2 separate regions of the Homo sapiens genome follow, and region 1 is linked to region 2. The links are contacts of gene promoters, found by promoter capture Hi-C in blood cells and fetal thymus (Javierre and others, 2016). All regions are on one chromosome and are shown on one strand. The core of a region is centred on a gene start or on the middle of the fragment in contact, and the rest is flanking DNA. Distances in the headings are between cores, read along the strand shown.

The links. The method cuts DNA at HindIII sites, captures the fragments that hold promoters and counts their contacts. A CHiCAGO score of 5 or more calls a contact.
Region 1: a fragment that was not itself captured here is called in contact with the fragment with the promoter of PPP2R2A in region 2 in 1 of 17 cell types (megakaryocytes); the score reaches 5.5 in megakaryocytes.

The regions. Positions count from the first base shown.
Region 1 is chr8:25,494,353-25,498,658 of GRCh38, reverse strand. The region is part of intron 13 of CDCA2 (cell division cycle associated 2); the gene reads right to left. Among named protein-coding and RNA genes, the nearest start is that of CDCA2, 37 kb to the right of the region's middle. The HindIII fragment of the contact is 1,573 bases long and covers 782-2,354 here.
Region 2 is chr8:26,289,114-26,293,409 of GRCh38, reverse strand. PPP2R2A (protein phosphatase 2 regulatory subunit Balpha) reads right to left here and starts at 1,902. Exons shown (of 10, transcript NM_002717.4): 1 at 1,584-1,902. The coding sequence starts at 1,590. RefSeq lists a silencer at 1,751-2,100. The HindIII fragment of the contact is 3,300 bases long and covers 815-4,114 here.

The DNA of each region.
Region 1 (4,306 bases), core at 319-2,818, 790 kb after region 2:
TATCTTGGCTGCGACCCTGAACTATGGTTTCGCAAGATGTCACAATTGGGGGAAACTAGGTAAAGGGTACTTGGGATCTTTCTGCATTACTTCTTAGAAGAGTGTGTGTATCCAAAATGATCACAAAACTTAAAATGTACACCAGGGATAGAGGCTCATATCTGTAATCCCAGCACTTTGGGAGGCCTGGGGGGCGGGGGGGGGGTGCAGATTACCTGAGGACAGGGGTTTGAGACCAGCCAGGCCAACATAGTGAAACCCCGTCTCTACTAAAAATACAAAAATTAGCTGAGCATGGTGGTGCACACCTGTAGTCCCAGCTACTGGGGAGGCTGAGGCAGGAGAATCACTTGAACCGGGGAGGAGGAGGTTGCAGTGAGCCGAGATCGTGCCACTGAACTCCAGCCTGGGCGACAGAGCGAGACTCCATTCCAACAAAACAAAACAAAACAAAATGTAATTCAACAAAACACAAAAACCATGATGGCAATTTTCCCTAGTATCTCCTCAAAGTTCAAATTTCTCCCTTGGCCCATAATTTCTTTTTCTAAAACAACTGTTCTAATCAGGACCCCAATAAGATCTCCACACATACCATTTGATTCATGTCTTTTAGTCTCTTTTATTCTATGGCTCCTTTTTTACTTCCCTTGACATTTATTTGGTGAGTAAATTGAGGCATTTTTCCTATAGAATTAGCCAAGTCCTAGATTTGGCTCACTACAGTAGGTGAGTCTATGTTCCTCCATGTCCTATAAATTGGTAATTAGATCTAGAAGCTTGATTAGATTCAGTTTTGATGGGCAAATTTGAATACAATTGTATAACCAACAAATTAAAAATTGCATATAGCATGGTGGATGAGAGGTTTTGACATATGTACACATTGGGAAATGATTAAACTAACATATCCACCACTTCACATAATTATTTTATGGCAAGAACACTTACAATGTCATCTCTTAGCAATTTTCCCATATACATTATTATTTCCTAGTCACCATGCTGTACAACAGATCTCCAGAACTTACTCATCCTAACTGAAACTTTGTACCCTTGAACCAACATCTCCTCATCCCCCACCACTCAAGCCACTAGCCCCCCTGACAACCACCATTCTATTCTCAGCTTCTGTGAGTTTTTTTTTTTTTTATTTTTTATTTTTTAAAGATTCCACATGTAAGTAAGATCTTCTTGTCTCTCTGTGCCTGGACTATTTTACTTAACGTAATGCCCTTAAGGTCCTTCTATGCTGTCAAAATGACAGGATTTCTTTAAGGCTGAATAGCATTTTGTTGTGTGTGTACACACATATTTTTTCTTTATCCATTCACCTGTTGATGGATACTCAGCTTGAGTCTGTAACTTGGTTATCGCTCTTTGATATACTGATTTCCTTTGGATACATACCCAGAAGTGGGATTTGCTGGATCATATGGTAGTTCTATTTTTAATTTTTTGAGGAACCCCCGTAATGTTTCCCACAATGGCTTGTGAAAATGGATTATTTGGAGTCACTGTGTCATAAACAACTAGAGTCCAGAGACCAGGGGAAAAAAAGCACTTGGGACTGTAAGACTAAATTTAACTACCACCATCACTCACCAGAGTTTACCAGCTCCCCAAAATTTTGCTTAGGGCCAGTGAGTTTTTTTTCTAAATAATATGTAACATTTCTTTTTCTACTAAAAACCCCAACTTTCTACGTTCTTAGGACATATCAAAGACCACCTCGGTCTGTGTGTTTGCCCCAAACTGCAATTACGTTTTCCCAAATAAAACATTTTGTTTAGAGATTCAGTTCTATATTTTTAGTTGACTTTGCCAATCAAAACAGGCTGTAGCAATTTACATTCCTATTGATAGTGTACAAAGGATTCCCTTTTCTCCATATCCTCTCCAACACTTGTAATCTTTCATCTGCTTGATAATAGCCAGTGATATCTCATTGTGGTTTTAATTTGCATTTCCCTGATGATTAGTGATGTTAGCCATTTGCATGTCTTTTGAGAACTGTCTATTCTGGACCTTTGACCATTTTTAAATTGGTGTGTTCTTGCTAATGAGCTGTTTGAGTTTCTTATACATTTTGGCTATTAACCCCTTATCAGATGTATGGTTTGTAGTTACAGTATCTTCTCCCATTCTATACGGTGTTTCTTTCCTCTGTTGATTGTTACTATGTCACATCAGCCTTTTATCAAACGTTTTAAGCAGCTTTGTTGAGCATTTCTTTTATTACCTGAAATTCTTCTATAAACAACTTTTCCCTCATCAACTATTTGTTTACCTGAAATAGAGCTCAAATTTTATTTTCCTGTTATCAGAAAAATGAGTGGGTATCCTAGCAAGCTTCTAAAGTGTCCATTAATTAAAAAAAAGTAATAAACTTATGTGTTATTTCATGATTGTACTTCAATGCTTTGCAATGCTGATGATCATATCTGGTCAGTGTAAGTCCCTTGAAGATGGATTTGTGTCTGTTAACATGACACCAGTAGTTTTTTTTAGCATCCTTCCTTGTACTCTGGTACAGACCCAACCAGGCTCACTTATTAAATTTGTTGTTGTAAATCTGAAAGCAGCCATTTCACCAAGGGACCCTAACCCCTTTTAACTGGTATGTCTAATGATAATCTATGCACCAGGGATGCTCATGAATTTTAAGCTTTATCAATGGATAGAGCTGGACAATTCTTTTAAATGGAAAATAAAATGAGTTTCTACTCTTATTTCCAATTCAAATTTAGTCTTCCAAAGTTTTAAATTTGTTGGATTTAAAAATATATCTTTTGTCTCTGAGTGCACATCTTGATTCTTAATGATGGGAAAAATTGCTTATTTGCTTTATTCTAAATTCAGTGCTTCTATTGAGTGTTTCATACTGTTTATAATTTCTTTGCAGTTATTTTTGTCCTTAAGATTTATCCCCCTTATAGGGCCAGGCGCAGTGGCTCACGCCTGTAATCCCAGCACTTTGGGAGGCCGAGGTGGGCGGATCACGAGGTCAGCAGATCGAGACCATCCTGGCTAACATGGTGAAACCCAGTCTCTACTAAAAAATAAAAAATAAAAAATTAGCCGGGCGTGGTGGCAGGTGCCTGTATTCCTAGCTACTCGGGAGGCCGAGGCAGGAGAATGGCATGAACCCGGGAGGCGGAGCTTGCAGTGAGCCGAGCTCACGCCACTGCACTCTAGCCTGGGTGACAGAGCAAGACTCCATCTCAAAAAAAAAAAGATTTATCCCACTTATATTCAAATTTCTAGGTTTGAAAAAATTCTTAATGAAGTTAAGCCACCAACTTGACATAGTAAGAATTTGTCAAATTTTGCTTTCGCTTATTAGAGATTGTTCTCTTTCTACTAGTTTTAGTTTTGTTTCATAGTCAGGTAAAACATTTAAATGGTCCCACAATCAAAACTGAAAAACAGTACACACTTAACGAAGTCTAGCTTGCATTCACATTCTCTCCTGTCTCCTCCCTTCTCCCTATAGCCAGTTTTTTATTTCTCTTTGGTTTATTCTTCAACTGAAAAATCAAAACTATATGTGTACTCTACTTTCTTAGACAAAGGGTAATGTATTAGTTTGTAAGGCTACTGTAATAAAATGTCACAAACTAGGTAGTTCAAACAACAGAAACTAATTTTCTCCCAGTTCTGGAGGCTAGCAGTGCAAGATCAGGGTGTTGGCAGGGCTGGTGTCTCTTGGGGCCTCTCTCCTTGGCCTTCAGATGGCCACCTTCTTGCTGTGTCCTCACATGGTTATTTCTCAATGCACACTCGTCCCTGGTGTCCTTATGTGGGTCCGAATTTCCTCCTCTTATAAGAACACCAGTCAGAGTGGATTAGGACCCACCCTATGGATCTCATTTTAAATTAATAACTATTTTAAAGACCAAATCTCCAAATACAGTCACATTCTGAGATCCTGGGAGTTAGGACTTCAATATATAAATTTGGGAAGGGACACAATTCAGTCCATAACCAGTAGTTGACCACATATATTGTTTTATAACATGCTTTTTTCATTTTAACAGTAAACACAGTCATCCCTCAGTATCTGTAGGGAAATTGGTTCCAGGACCTCCTGTGGATACCAAAAATCTGCAGATACTCAAGTCCCCGACATAAAATGGCACAGTATTTGCATAGAGCATATGTAAACTTCCTTTTACAGCATTATACTGTAAAAATACAGCATAATAACTATGCTTTAAAGCATCTCTAGATGACTTAACACCAAGTACAATATAAATGCTACATAGTTAATATGCTGTATTTTAAAATTTTTATTTTTTTAATT
Region 2 (4,296 bases), core at 653-3,152:
CCTGTCAAATACAGTAAAAGCCTTACATTCAGGCAAGACCTACCAGAAAAAAAGTAAATACCAAGAGTTAAAGAGTTTTCTTAAGTGTACAAAAAGCCTGCAGAAGAGTTAATAAGGTTAAACTACCATGAAACATAGAACGAAGAGAAAACTTCGGGAACATTACTGCCTGGGTAAGGAGTAATGATTCATATGAACCTTATCACCAAAGTGCACACACAGCAAACACTACACCCATTTCTTTGCATTCATTACCAGCAAATCACTGGCTCCAGACAGAGAGGAAAAGAAACCGAAATGAATGCTGCTAAAGAGACTGTCAAAGGAAGCTTGTTCTGCCTCCCTTCACCTCATCCCTTGACTCCAAAGGACCTGGCAAAGAATTCATTTTGCTAATGTCATCTCGTGCAAAACAATTTTAATCTCATTTCATTTTTCAACAAGGCCAACAAGCAACTTGTTTATAGCAAACCGTAAGTCAATCCGACATGTTAACTTTTTCAAAAGGTTTAATTATCTAAATAATGAATACAGCACGGAAAACTGGTCTCATCTCGGAATGTTTCTATTTCACGTGCAAGTACTGAGGTCGAAATGATTGAAAATGTCCTGGGGCTCTAGGGAGAAAGAAACTGAATCTAAATCTGCAACTGATTCTACTACATGAAGGAAAAGATTTAGCAATACCAACATGTACAAAAAGAATTCTCAAAGCAATTACATTACTTCTCTCTCCCCCATCACCCCTATTCCTTGCTAAATTTATTTCCAAACTGGTTTTCTCTCTACATCCTTTCCCCTCCCCTTCAAAGCTTCTACCTAAATCTCTCTCCTCCTTGCTATTTATATCTCTGAACTCCGCAACTATTTTAACTAACTCTACCAAACCCTTTTGGGAAAAGGACATCTGCAAAAAAGCTAACATGCTAAACGCAAAGTTTAAATTATTTTCATGCAACTTGCTGTACATGAAAGGCCTTGCACTCTTCGGCGGTAAAAGGGAAGAAACGGAAACGAAATGGTTCGAAACAAAAAATTTAGGCTTCCAGTCTCAAAAATATTGGCATCTACAGTGGGGAAAAAATACACATATGCCCCCACTGTATTTTAACTTATAAGGCGCTCTTCCTTCTCGAGGCAAAATAAATGTGTATATACACCCAAGAAGGCTTGCAGCAGGGGGAAAAATAGAAATTAAATGAAGACCTGCAGGAAAAAAAAATAAAGGCGGGGGGCAAGGTGGGGAGGTGGGAGAAGATCCACCAGGCTCCCGAGCGGGAGGGACAAATCTGCACGCACCCCCACCCCGCCCCACCCACGCCTCACCCCAAGCTCGCCGGCACACCCCACCCCCACCCCCGCCACGGCGCCAGCCCCGTTCTCCAAGCCCAGTGACTCTCACCGTGACCACTTGCCTCCCGGGAGCCCTCCCCGCCCCCACCCCACCCCTCTGGACCCTACTCCCTCAAACCCGAGGGGCGCCCTGTGGCTCTGCGCGAGGCGCGGGCGGTCGCTAGGGGGTGATGGAGGGAGGAATAAGGAAGCGGTGCCTTGTCAGGGGGCGAGGGGGATTTCTCCTTTACCTGCCATGTTGCGCTGCAAATGGTGACCCTGCTGGGTTCCTCGGGGTCTCCGCTTCCTGAACTCACCCCCCTCACCTGGGGATGGGGGGGTAGAGAGGGCGGATGGCGGCGGATGGCACCTGCGGGGGGAGGGGACGGGGGCCGGGGGGAAAAGGAAGGAGGGGCGGGCAGACCAGCCGGCAGGATGCTAGATTTCACTCTGGGGCTTCCCCGCTCGTGCTCTTTCTCCGGCAGCGGCGGCGGCGACTACGACAGCGACGGCGGCGGCGGCAGCGGCAGGGGCAGGCGACTCCACTTTCAAAATGGCGCCGGCTGGCCTGGCCAGTGACGTCACCTAGGGGGCGGAGCCGCCGGGCTGGGGCGGAGAGCGGAGGGGGAGGGGCGGGGGAGCGGCCGGGCGGCTCTTGGCCACGCCCCCTTCCTGCTGCGCCTGTGCCCCGCCCTCCGTGTCCCGGCCGGCAGGGCCTGCGCCGCGCCAGCGTCTCGCCATGGCATACCCTCTGTCCGCACCGCCTGCGCCAGGCCGCGGCTGTGTGCACCTAGCAGTGTCCCAGCCTCGAGCACTAGCGCCGGGGCTCTGGGGCGGGCTTAGGAGTCCAGTTTACGTGCTCTCCTGCAAGGATTCATGGGGTCCTATGTCTTCTAGGAATACCTGGGCCGGGCACGGTGGCTCATGCCTGTAATCCCAGCACTTTGGGAGGCTGAGGCGGGCGGATCACAAGGTCAGGAGTTCGAGACCAGCCTGGCCAACATGGTGAAACCCCGTCTCTACTTAAAAATATACAAAAATTAGCCAGGCGTGGTGGTGTGCGCCTGTAATCCTAGCTACTTGGGAGGCTGAGGTGTGAGAATTGCTTGAACCCGGGAGGCAGAGGTTGCAGTGAGCCGAGATCGCACCACTGCACTCCAGCCTGGGTGACAGAGCAAGACTCCGTCTCAAAAACAAAAAACAAACAAACAAAAAACCCCGTACTGCTTCTTAGGAAATTGTCACTTTGGATTAGCCCTGAGACCACAAAGAAAGGGACAGCGGTGCAGACTTACTGCTCAGCCGGGGTGAAAGTTCACGGGGTTCAGAGGGACACGATTGGGCTGGTTCTATCTGGGTGAATTAAATTACCTTCTCGTGGGCCCCAGGATCCAAGGCGGGAGTCCTAGGCACTGCGGACACTAAGAGTGATTTCTAAGAGAAACCTGAGTTTGTGATGAGAGGGTATGGCCCAAGAAGTGACCCGGCGTCTCTCCAGCTAAACGTGTTGGACTGCGTGCTTAAGAGCTGGGCTCAGGGCCGGGCGCGGTGGCTCACGCCTGTAGTCCCAGCACTTTGGGAAGCCGAGGTGGGAGGATCGCTTGAGGCCAGGAGTTCCGAGTTCGGCCTGGAGAACATAGGGAGACCCATCTCTCCAAAAAAAATTTTTTTTTTTAAATTAGCCAGGTATGATGGCGTGCCTATAGTCCCAGCTACTAGAAGGCTGCAGTAGGAGGACTGCTTGAGCCCAGTAGGTCAAGGCTGCAGTGAGCTATGTGATCACATCACTGCACTCCAGCCTGGGAGACAGAATGCGATCCTGTCAAAACAAAAACAAAAACACAAAAAGTGCTGGGCTCTGAAGCCAGGCTGCCTAATATGATTCCAAGGCTCAGGAGATGAAGATGACAGTCCTACCTGATAGGATTGTTGGGGAGATGAAATGACTTAATTTGAGCACATGATAAATGTTAGCTGCCGTTATTATTAGATTTGTATTGAAAGCATCGTCAGTAAGGTTAAGAGGTAGAAGGAAAAAAATGAACAGGAAATGCCAGTCATCAGCTATGAGGGGATGTGCACTTCTGTTGAAAGATGCTCTAATGATGCAGTTGCTATATACAGCACACTTTACATATCCCATTCCATCTCCACGATACTCCTAGGAGATAGATATGCACATTTTACACGTGAAAAACACCTGTAAAAGCATCCAGAATTTGGCCTAAGGCTGAATGGAGTGATAAAGGCGTTTGGAAACCAAGAAGGGGGAGTTAAAGATATTTACACGTCCTCCCCACCATCTCCACTTTCTACCATATTTTTGATTTCCAGGACAGTTGAACTGTAATGCAACGTTCAAAATTCCTTCAAAGGAACAACTGCACCACTGCATGATCATTCCTCTGTTTCTGCATGAATATTTCCCACGTTACCAATGAATTAATCAAAACTAAAAATCCACCCTCTATGTGTCATCTTTTGGCTACCTGTACAACAGGTACAAAACTTCAGTGCACTGCGTGCTGTATTTTCTTCAATGCTGGTGTTTTTCATAAATGTATTTCTCTGGGTATGCCTTCATTTATTTTCCTTTTTGCTTGCTCTGCCCTTCTTTGGTGGTTCAATCCCAGACTCTCCAGGGAGAGCTCTCCATCTTAACCAGAACCCAGAAGGAAGGAGAGAGAGAGAAAGGAAGACAGAAAAAGAGAATATAGACTTTACATACCCTGAAAATGATTTGGTTTACATAAATGATTTGTTCTTAGAAGCCAATAAAGCTTGCCTAGAAACTGGGATAATTATAACAAAAATGTATATAGCACCGACTTTGTGCCAGGTGCTGTTTTAAGAACATTATTTGGAGCCTTGGGGGTACTGCATGCCTGTGGAATGGGCTGACTTGGGTCTGATAATCAAGGGCCAGTGCACCCTGGCACCCTGGTGTAAACGACCTGGCTCTTT